Regions from separate parts of the Homo sapiens genome. Here all the other regions are linked to region 2. The links are contacts of gene promoters, found by promoter capture Hi-C in blood cells and fetal thymus (Javierre and others, 2016). All regions are on one chromosome and are shown on one strand. Each heading gives the region's core, a stretch centred on a gene start or on the middle of the fragment in contact. The rest is flanking DNA. Distances are from core to core; before and after follow the strand shown. Region 1 overlaps ARHGAP27 (Rho GTPase activating protein 27). Region 2 holds the start of HEXIM2 (HEXIM P-TEFb complex subunit 2). Region 3 has its middle 52 kb from the start of MAP3K14.

Region 1 (3,302 bases), core at 510-3,009, 240 kb after region 2:
GCTTCGAGGGGCAGGGACAGGGACCTGGGGAGAAAGACACAGTCGTATATGATCTCTTCCTCTCTCCCCAACACCCCCCTTTCCCCAGGTTGTTACCTGGGGCAGCTCCCATCGAACAGAGGAGTCCTCTGGATTGTAGAAGTATGGCTTCCCGTGGGGGTCCTCCAGCCTCACCCACTGTGGGGAGAGGAATGGTCAGGGCCTCCAGCCCAGCTTATGAGAGGGGAGGAAAAGTTTCCCTCTAACCAGGTTCCAAGACAGCACCAGGGAGTCTGGAGGGGCAGGTGCAGGTGACTGTGTTTGGCTGGTTTAGGCTCTGTGTGGGAGCTGCGGTTTAGAGCACTGAGGCGACCTATTAGTGAGGAAGGTTGTGGGGAGGACTCTGAGGCTGTCCGGGTCCATCTGCCCCCTGCCCCTACCTGCTCCTGAGTGAAGTGGTTGGTGTAGAGCATCTGCTTGTCCTGGCTGACATGACAAGACCAGCCGGGGGGTGTGGTCAAGGGAGAGGTAGGGCCGGGCTCACCGAAAGAGCCCACGGGAGAATAGTCCTCCTCGGGGTAACTGGTCAGCGACTCGGGGTAGTCCGTCTCGGGAGTGGGGGGCTGCGGGGAACAGAAGGTGGAGTCAGAGGCTCTGAGTGCCAGTACTGCCTGCTGGCCCTGCCGTTTTGGACCAGGCCCACCCCCTTGCCTTCTGGTCCCTGAGGCTGTGGGAGCAGGAGGCGGGGTCAGAAGCGCTCAGAGGTAGCTCCGCACCTCACCCTCTGGTCCCTGGGGCTGTGGGAGCAGAAGGCGTCAGAGGTAGCCCCGCCCACTCCAGCCCTGCCCCTCACCTTCTGGTCCCTGGGTCTGCAGAAACAGGAGGCGGGGTCAGAAGCGCTTAGAGGTAGCCCCACCCATCCTGCCCCACCCCTCACCCTCTGGTCCTTAGGTCTGTGGGAGCAGGAGGTGGGGTCAAAGGCGCTCAGAGGTAGCCCCGCCCACTCCAGCCCCGCCCTTCACCCTGGGGTCCCTGGGTCTGTGGGAGCAGGAGAAGGGGTCAAAGGCTCTCAGAGGTAGCCCCGCCCACCCATCACCACCCCCTCACCCGTGTGTCCCTGGGCCTCTGGGAGCAGGAGGCGGGATCAGAGGCGCTCAGAGGTAGAACCGCCCACTCTGGCCCTGCCCCTCACCCGCGGGTCCCCTGGGCTGCCAGGGCTCAGGCCCGGCTGCATCTCCAACTCCTCCTCGGGCTCGTTCTCGGCCTCGTCCTCCCAGGCCGTCTCGCCCGTCAGCGGGTTGTAGAAGAACACCCTGCGGCTCTCCTCATCCCAGTACTGGCCCCACTCGGTCTCAAGGCTCACGTGGCTGTCCACCGAGGCAGGGGAGGTGGCTGGGCTGGCGGCACCCTCGGCAGCCTCAAAGGGCGACTCCCAGGTGGTAACTCCCGTGTCTGGGTTGTAGTAGTAGGGGCGCCCGGTGCCCGCGTCCGTGTGCGTCTCCCACACCGGGCTGGGAAGGGGGGCTGCAGCGGCGCCCGGTGAAGTGGCCCGGGGCTGCCTCTCTATGTTCGCGTACACGGGCTCCGGTGGGTCGTCCACCTGCGGGAGGAGAAAGGAGGAATTTTGTGTTTTCAGAAACCTTCCAAAATGGTAACAGAGGTCCCCTCTGGGCAGTGCGATTATAGGGGTTTATTTGTTTTCGCTTTATTTTCTTTAAACTTTTCTGCAGCCTCAAAATTTTGTACAACAAAGCATTTTAAAAATCACGTAAGTTCTTCTGCTCACTGTGACACCATCACTAAGCCGTAAACTCCTTGAAAGGGGAAGTGCCTGTTAGAAGTGGCCTCTTCTTGAGCTTTAGCCCCTTGGGCGACCTTCAGGAAGTCACACTACCTCTCTGCCTCAGTTTCCTGGGTGTAAAATGTCTGCTCTGTCCATTCCGGAAACTGTAGTGAAGAGTGAATGAGGAAATGCTCTTGAAAGTACTTTGTAAAGTATTTAGTGCCCCAGACGGGTGGGTCAATTACATTAATTATATTTATCAATAATAATAAAACATCGATAACCCAGTTCTCACAACTGTGCACTCACAGAGGCAAGTCAGAGGTTGGGCAGGAACTGAGAAGTGGTCTGGGGCGTGCCCCTGTTTATGGTGCCCATTCAGGGCCCTGCTGCATTCTTTTTTTTGAGATGGGGTCTAGCTCTGTCACCCAGGCTGGAGTGCAGTGGCGCAATCTTGGCTCACTGCAACCACCACCTCCTGGATTCAAGCTGCATTCTTACAGCTCCACTGAGAGCTCCCACCCCACCCCACTCTCAGCCCAGAAAGCTCTGGGATTGGAATCAGCACCCTGTCTGGATTTGGGGACTGAACTTTCCAAGGTGAAGTTTGCAGGTGTCAGAACCAATTCCAGACAAGAGAGGGAGACAGGACAGCCAGATGGGCTGGAGAATGGAGGGGCAAAGAGAGGTGAATTGTTTTACTCCACCCCAAAGGAGAGTGAGGGCAGCTGGGGGTTCAATCACATAGAACATAAACCTAGCCATGCGTAAGCCTCCCGGAACAGAGGCTCTCCTGATTCACACCTCAGAGCTCCCTGCTGGCTGCAGGGCAAAGTCTAAGCCCTTAACCAGGCACAAGAGACCGTCCCTCACCGGCCTGTGCTTCCACTATTATTTCCTGCCACTCCTTGCCCCTTGCCTTGAACTTTAAGCTCCAGTAGCACCAGTTGCTAGAGGTCCCCACCGTCCCTGCTGTGTTTCCTCCAGGCCTAGGCTCATCTGCAGCCTGCCCAGGCCCATCTCCACCCCTTTTTTTGCCTGGCTGACTCCAATTCCTTCTTCAGGATTCAGCTGAGGTGCCAGGTTCCAGCCTTTTCCTGAGATTCCCCCCATCCCCGTGCCCCCACATTCAGCCCAGCACCCTTGGCCCCACAGAGGGACAGATGACTACATTCTCAAACCCCAGGCAGCAGCATGGCATACGGAGATTACTACTATTTTCTTTTCTTTTCTTTTTCTTTTTCTTTTTTTTCTTTTTTTTTTTTTGAGATGGAGTCTCGCTCTGTCGTCCAGACTGGAGTGGAATGGTGTGATCTCGGCTCACTGCAACCTCCGCCTCCTGGGTTCAAGCGATTCTCATGCCTCAGCCTCCCAAGTAGCTGGCATTGCAGGCACGCACCACCACGCCTGGCTAATTTTTGTATTTTAGTAGAGATGGGGTTTTGCCCTGTTGGCCAGGCTGGTCTTGAACTCCTGACCTCAGGTGATCCGCCCACCAGGGCCTCCCAAAGTGCTGGGATTACAGGTGTGAGCCACCGCA
Region 2 (3,248 bases), core at 79-2,578:
GATTTCAAAATGCAAGCAGATGTTGATGAAGCATACGAAATGGGCAACTCCGTTTCTATTTCGGAGCCGCAGCGACTCCGACTTTGTGCCCCAACCCTGTAAAGGGCAAAACCTCATCCCTTCGGTGTAAACTTTCAAGAGAAGTGGGGCAGCACACTTTAGGCGTTTCACCAAGAGGCTGGCGACATGCTAGGTCAGGTTGTCCGGAGAATCGGGGCTGAATGGGAGAGATCTTGAGGGCAAGAGCCTCAGAGACCTTCAGGCACCGAGCTCGTGAAGGTTTCCAAGTGCCCCTCTCTAGCTGCTCCCAGGGGGAATTAGTGGTTGCTACAGTAGTTTAAGAGGGTCGTGGTTTTTCGCAACCCGGGCGGCGAGATGGCGCTTTGGTGTAAGCGAGGTAAGGTGGGTGCACTGGGATCTCCGCTCTCGGAGCCTCCAGCTGACTGCCACGCCGACTTGTGGCCAGACCTGCGACCTCCGCCCTCCCCCGCGGCGCCAGCCTCTGGAATCTGGCGTCGCCCCCACCTCTCCAGTCGAAGTGGGAGTCCCTCTGTGCGGGGCCTCGCCGCCATACCCAGGCCGAATGGGGGTGGGGAGGGAAGCTGGCAGAGCTCGGCCTCAGGATCCGCGCCCCTGTGGAAAGACCGCAGAGGGAAGCCGTTTCACCAGCCTCTCCCCTTCTGGGGTCTCGGGAAACACGCGGTAATTACCGAAGAACCCCGCACTCTGTGAGAGGCGAGGCTGCGGGGCTGCCGGGACGGTTTGAGGACCGGGCTCGGCCGAGGAGACTCCAACCTTCACCCTCCCTGGCCCCCGGTCCCACTTCCCGCCGTCTCCCGGCGCCGCCACTTCAGGTAGCCCACTCGGCCCGGCCTCTCCCCGCGCCCGGACCACCCCCCACGGGGTGCTCTCACTGCGCAGCGAGTCCCTCCGCTGCCTCCTCCCAGCCCAAAATGGCGGCGATGGCCGCCGAGCTTCTCGTCGCCTTCCTCAAAGGCCAAGGATCCCTCCGCGCCTGCTGCCCCGCCCACCTTAGCCGGATCTATTTTCTGCCCCGTAAAGATTAACGCCATCAATGAACTCTTTAATTGAGTTCGGAGAAGGCGGGTCCAGTTGTGCCTCCTCACAGCTAATCGTTGCCAAAAAAGCGAGAATATTGGCAGAAGGCTTGACCAATCAAAGAAGGCAGTGATGCGCGCGCGGTCTGCCCCCGCGCAAGGGTAGATGGGTTTTGGAGTCTCGGGTGTGGCTGTTGACGTTACAGGCCCTTGGATCGCTTTTCAGGCCAGAAGAACTACAATCCCCAGCAGGCACCGCGCGTCCAGGCTCTCTCTTCCCCCCCATCTTAGTGGCCTGAGCGGCTTGACCAGAGCTGCTGCAACTGCAGCAAGAGGTAGGGCTCAGGCGTTGGGAATTGCACCGACAGGCAGTCGCACAGAAAGGCACACAGATGTAGTGGTGTGCATAGCCCTTGACAGCGAATAGGTCAGTTCCACCTTTGCAAAACCTCTTTCCATGACTGTCTCCCTTCTTCCAAGAAATCCATCCTTATCCTAGTTGGGTTTCCCTCCCAGCTGCATGTAGTGCAAAGACCTCTTTCCCCTTTTCTCCTGTTTCCCTTTCTGAGAGGAAGGAGGGAGGCAGGCCAGGACCTTAGAGGAAAAGTCCTCAGCACTAGGCTGGCCCAGGTCCCAGCTGTGCTTCTGGCCTTTGGAGCCCAGCTTGGGGAGAAGGTTGGGGGTGCAGGGCTGCATCAAGATTGGGGCCACTGGAGACAGTGGGGAAGGACTCGTGAGCTTGCTCCATGTTCTCCCGTGGCAGCAGCAGCCCCGCTGCACTCCCAGCCTCCCCAGGCAGTCCTCCTTTGCCCCTTTGGTGGTTGGGGAAACAAAACTTACACCTGGCTTCCTGGCTGCCAACCTGGGCCTCGGTGACTTCCAGGAGGACAGTACAGGACATGAGTCCTGGTGAGGGACCCGAGGAGCAGGACAGAGAAGACGGCCCCTGAATCCCATTTGGCCCCTTGCTGGCTGGAGGTGTGAAAACCAGCGGTGGAGGCAGCCTTCGGGGCCTGCATTTGAGAATAAGGGTATGAAGGGCTGGGGTACAAAATGGCTGCCACTGCCTGGGCAAACAATTCTGGGCAGCCAGAGTATTCCTGACGTTCCTTCAGGATTTAGGTTTCTGTTGTTGTTCAAAGCAGGTGTCACTAGTTCCAGGCGTCTGCTGAAAGATTTGGAACAGAAGATGATGGCCACTCCGAACCAGACCGCCTGTAATGCAGAGTCACCAGTGGCCCTGGAGGAGGCCAAGGTAAGTCCCTGCCCTCCTGCCCACCCAAGCACCACGAGCACGGGTCCCACAGCTGAGATCCAAACTTCTTGTCCCAGATGTGTTGGTAGATTTGGAAAACCAGTATTTTGACGAATCAGTACTATGCACTAGGCAATAGGCCGGAATCCCAGTCTATGCTAGCTGATGAAATCTTAGTAACTGGCCGGGTGCGGTGGCTCACACCTGTAATCCCAGCACTTTGGGAGGCCTAGGTGGGTGGATCACCTGAGGTCAGGAGTTCGAGACCAGCCTGACCAACATGGCAAAACCCTGGCTGTACTGAAAATGCAAAATTAGCCTGGCATAGTGGTGGCGCATGCCTGTGATCCCAGCTACTTGGGAGGTTGAGGCAGGAGAATCGCTTGAACCCAGGGGTCGGAGGTTGCAGTGAGCCAAGATCTCGCAATTGCACTCCAGCCTGGGCGTCAGAGCGAGACTCCGTCTCAAAAAAAAAAAAAAAAAAAAAAAATCCTAGTAACCCTTTCAGGTAGGAATTATTTCCAATTCCCAGAAGCTAAGGTTCTGAGACCTGAAATACCTGTTCCAGAATCATGCTATCTACAAGCAACAGACCCAGGGTTTAAACTTAGGGCCTTCTGACAACAGAACATTGCCTTGACCTCAAGTCCAAAGAGGGCATGGAGGGACTGGGTTGAATGTTTACATTTTGTCCAGGCTAAGAACCAAGTCTGAAGCAGGAAGAAGAGTTTTTGGTTCATAATTTGGAATGGACCCAGGCAGGCAATTCACTTGAGACCAGAAGTTCAAGACCAGCCTGGCCAACATGGTGAAACCTCATCTCTACTAAAAATACAAAAATTAGCTGGGCATGGTGGCACATGCCTGTAATACCAGCTACTCAGGAGGCTGATGCACCAGAATCACTTGAACCCAGGATGCAGAGGTTGCAGTGA
Region 3 (3,602 bases), core at 106-2,605, 210 kb after region 2:
TTCCTCCCCGACCCTGGAGCCACACTGCTCTTATTATGTCACCAGGAGGTTTTTCCAAGACGTCTGCTAAGAATCAGGTGAAAATCAGCTGAAGGCTGAGTCTGCGCCAGTTCTCAGCCCCTGAAGGGTGGGTAGGGCCATGTCCCAGTCAAAGGTGTGGACTGTGGATTCCACCTCTGTTGCTAAGATGGGACAGAGAAGTCCCATAGCCTCCCGGAGCCTCAGTTTTCTCTTCTGCAATAGAGAACTAATAAGCTCCAGCTCGTAGGATTTGTTGGAGGATTAAACAGTATCCCAGAAGTCACTTACAGGCATGGGACATGTCTGCAGTACGTGGTGACAATGAGGATGATGAAGAAGAAGATAATGGAGATGAAGGAACCACCAGGAGGGGAGACATGGACCAGCAGGGTCTTTTACTTTGGATTGCTCTGAGGTGACACCAGGTGTGTGTGAGTCCACATTGACAGGCTGGGCAGATGGATGGGCGGGGGGTCAGGACGCAGCATGGGGGCTGAGGGCAGCACCATCCCGAACCACACTCCTGGGCTCTGAGCTCGCCTCACGCTGCTGGACTCAGGAGAACCTCAGCATGAACACTCATCATGTCCTCTAGCCTGGAGCTTCCCAAATTAAGGAAGGGGTGGCCTCTGGGTCATTCCAGAAAGCCCTGTGATTCAGACCGTGCCGATGTTACCCTGGGTGGACTCCCTCAGCCTCAGCCTCCCTCATCAGTTAGGGGATCCCAATCAGACTTTTTGGAGGTCAGAGGCTGCCAGGAAAGAGGGCTTTTAACAAGGTTTCTACAAACCTTGAGATTGCTAGAAAGGGCCTGATGGACGGGGTGGGGCAGGCGGGGAGAGGGGGGAGGGGGAGGAAGGCTCAGGTCAGGGGTCACCAGGCCTTAATGATCCCTCTCAGCAAACTAACTTGAGGATGTATTCCAATTGTATTTGCTTATTTATGTCAGGAACATAAACTATTGCATTAATATATTATGCCTATTATAAAAATACGTATAAAACGAAAATTTTAAGAGATATCAATAGGAAACAAGTTAAACAAATGACGTCCCATGCATACAATCAACTATGACTGACCTATTTTTTAAAATGATGTCTTATAACTCGATAATAAGAAGACAAACAACTAAATGTAAAGATGGACAAAACAACCCAGGCGTGGTGGCTCATGTCTGTAATCCCAGCACTTTGGGAGGCCGAGACAAGTGGATTGCTTGAGGCTAGGAGTTTGAGACCAGCCTGGGCAACATGGTGAAACCCCATCTCTACTAAAATTACAAAAACTAGCCAGGTGTGCTGGCAGGCGCCTGTAATCCCAGCTACTTAGGAGGCTGATGCAGGAGAATCGCTTGAACCCAGGTGGCAGAGGTTGTGGTGAGTCAAGGTTGTGCCACTACCCTCCAGCCTGGGCAACAGAGCAAGACTCCCCCACCGCCACCACAAAACTCCCGCTGCAAAAAAAAAAAAAAGATGAAAGACTCTAATAGACATTTTTTTCAAAGAAAATATATGGGCTGGCATGGCTCAGGATATTGTGACACATGCCTGTAATCCCAGCACTTCAGGAGCCGAGGCAGGAGGATTGCTTGAGGCCAGGAGTTTGAGACCAGCCTGGTCAACATAGCAAAACCCCATCTCTACAAAAAAAAAAAAAAATTAGCCGATATAGTGGTGTGTATCTATAGTCCCAGCTACTCAGGAGGCTGAGGCAGGAGGATCTTTTGGGCTCAGAAGCTCAAGGCTGCAGTGAGCTATGATTGTGCCACTGCACTCCAGCCTGGGTGACAGAGGAAAACCCTCTCTCTCCTAACAATAATAAAAAAGAATGGTTAATAAGCACACAAAAATGTTCAATTTCAATTTGTTATTTGAAAAATGCAAATTAAAACCACAATGAGATACCATTTCAAACCCACCAGGATGGCTATAATCAAAAAGACAGATAATAATAACAAGTGTGGTGGAGAATGTAGAGAAAGTGGAAGCCTCATACATTGCTGTTGGGAATGTAACATGATGCAGCCACTTTGGAAAACAGCTTGGCAGTTGCTTAAAAAGTTAAACAGAAACTACCCAAGAGAAGTAAAAATGTGGCCACACAAAGACCTGAATGCTCATAGCAGCATTGTACATTTTAAAAACCCTGTAAATCATCCAAATATGCAAAAGCTGGTAACTGGATAAACAAAATGTGAAATATCCATTCAGTGTAATACTACTCAGCAATAAAAAGGAACAAACTGGCCGAGCGCAGTGGCTCACATTCGTAATCTCAGCACTTCGGGAGGTCGAGGCAGGTGAATCACCTGAGGCCAGGAGTTTGAGACTAGCCTGGCCAACATGGTGAAACACCATCTCTACTAAAAATACAAAAATTAGCCGGGAGTGGTGGCGCACGCCTGTCGTCCCAACTACTCAGGAGGCTGAGGCACAAGAATCGATTGAACCTGGGAGGTGGAGGTTACAGTGAGCCGAGATCGCACCACTGCACTCCAGCCTTGGCGACAGAGTGAGACTCGGTATCAAAAAAACAAAAAACAAAAAGCAAAAAAGGAACAAACTTCTTAAATGAGCTACGACATAGATGAACTTCAAAAATATTATGCTCAGTAAAAGAAGCTAGACACAAAAGACCACATATTGTGTGCTTCCATTTATATGAAATTTCCAGAAAACACAAATCTGTAGAGAAAGCAAATCTGTCATTGCTGGAGCTGGGATGGCTGTGAGGATTCACTGCAGATGGATCCAACAGGACTTTGGGGGATGATGGCAATGTTATAAAACTGGCTTGTGGTGATAGCTGCCCAACTCTATACATTTAAAAAAAAACTGTTGAATAGTACATTTACAATGGATGTGTTTTATGTAAATTATATCATATCTCAATGAAGTTGTTAAAAAAAAAATGAGGAAGCTTGTTAGGTACTGGTTTAGAAAGGTCTCCAAGATTTTTTTTTTCTTTTTGAGACAGAGTGTTGCTCTGTCACCCAGGCTGGAGTGCAGTGGCATGAACTCTGCTTACTGCAACCTCTGCCTCCCAGGTTCAAGAAGCGATTATCCTGCCTTAGCCTCCCCAGTAGCTGGGATTACAGGCATCTGCCACCATGCCCAGCTAACTTTTGTATTTTTAGTAGAGACGGGGTTTCAACATGTTTGTCAGGCTGGTCTCGAACTCCTGACCTCAGGTGATCCACCTGTTTCGGCCTTCCAAAGTGTTAGGATTACAGGTGTGAGCCACCACGCTTGGCCTCCAAGGTGTATTTTTAAATGGAAAAACAAAGCACAGAATACGCTACCATTGGTTTTTTTTTTTTTTTTGGTGTTTTTTTTGTTTGTTTGTTTTTGTTTTTTTTGTGATGGAGTTTCGCTCTTTTGCCCAGGCTGGAGTGAAGTGGCACAATCTCGGCTCACTGCAACCTCCACCTCCCAGTTCAAGCGATTCTCCTGCCTCAGCCTCCGGAGTAGCTGGTATTATCGGTGCCTGCCACCACGCCCGGCTAATTTTTCTTTTTCTTTTTCTTTTTTTTTTTTGTGAGACAGAGTCTTACTCTGTCACCCATGCTGGAGTGCAGTGGC

The links. The method cuts DNA at HindIII sites, captures the fragments that hold promoters and counts their contacts. A CHiCAGO score of 5 or more calls a contact.
Region 1: a contact is called between a fragment that was not itself captured here and the fragment with the promoter of HEXIM2 in region 2, in 5 of 17 cell types (neutrophils, fetal thymus, non-activated CD4 T cells and 2 more). The highest score is 9.9, in neutrophils.
Region 3: a contact is called between a fragment that was not itself captured here and the fragment with the promoter of HEXIM2 in region 2, in 2 of 17 cell types (monocytes and neutrophils). The highest score is 5.8, in monocytes.

What each region holds. Positions count from the first base shown.
Region 1 is chr17:45,404,505-45,407,806 of GRCh38, forward strand. It overlaps ARHGAP27 (Rho GTPase activating protein 27), which reads right to left. Exons shown (of 20, transcript NM_001282290.2): 5 at 1,172-1,579; 6 at 420-602; 7 at 97-177; 8 at 1-24. Among named protein-coding and RNA genes, the nearest start is that of ARHGAP27, 27 kb to the right of the region's middle. The HindIII fragment of the contact is 9,114 bases long and covers 1-3,302 here.
Region 2 is chr17:45,160,547-45,163,794 of GRCh38, forward strand. HEXIM2 (HEXIM P-TEFb complex subunit 2) reads left to right here and starts at 1,329. Exons shown (of 4, transcript NM_001303441.2): 1 at 1,329-1,485; 2 at 1,942-2,089; 3 at 2,204-2,313. The coding sequence starts at 2,248. HEXIM2-AS1 (HEXIM2 antisense RNA 1) reads right to left here and starts at 992. Exons shown (of 3, transcript NR_186789.1): 1 at 915-992. RefSeq lists enhancers at 1-579, 580-1,195, 849-1,078, 1,196-1,811, 1,229-1,428 and 1 more. The HindIII fragment of the contact is 38,888 bases long and covers 1-3,248 here.
Region 3 is chr17:45,366,866-45,370,467 of GRCh38, forward strand. No RefSeq gene overlaps it. Among named protein-coding and RNA genes, the nearest start is that of MAP3K14, 52 kb to the left of the region's middle. The HindIII fragment of the contact is 3,166 bases long and covers 1-2,938 here.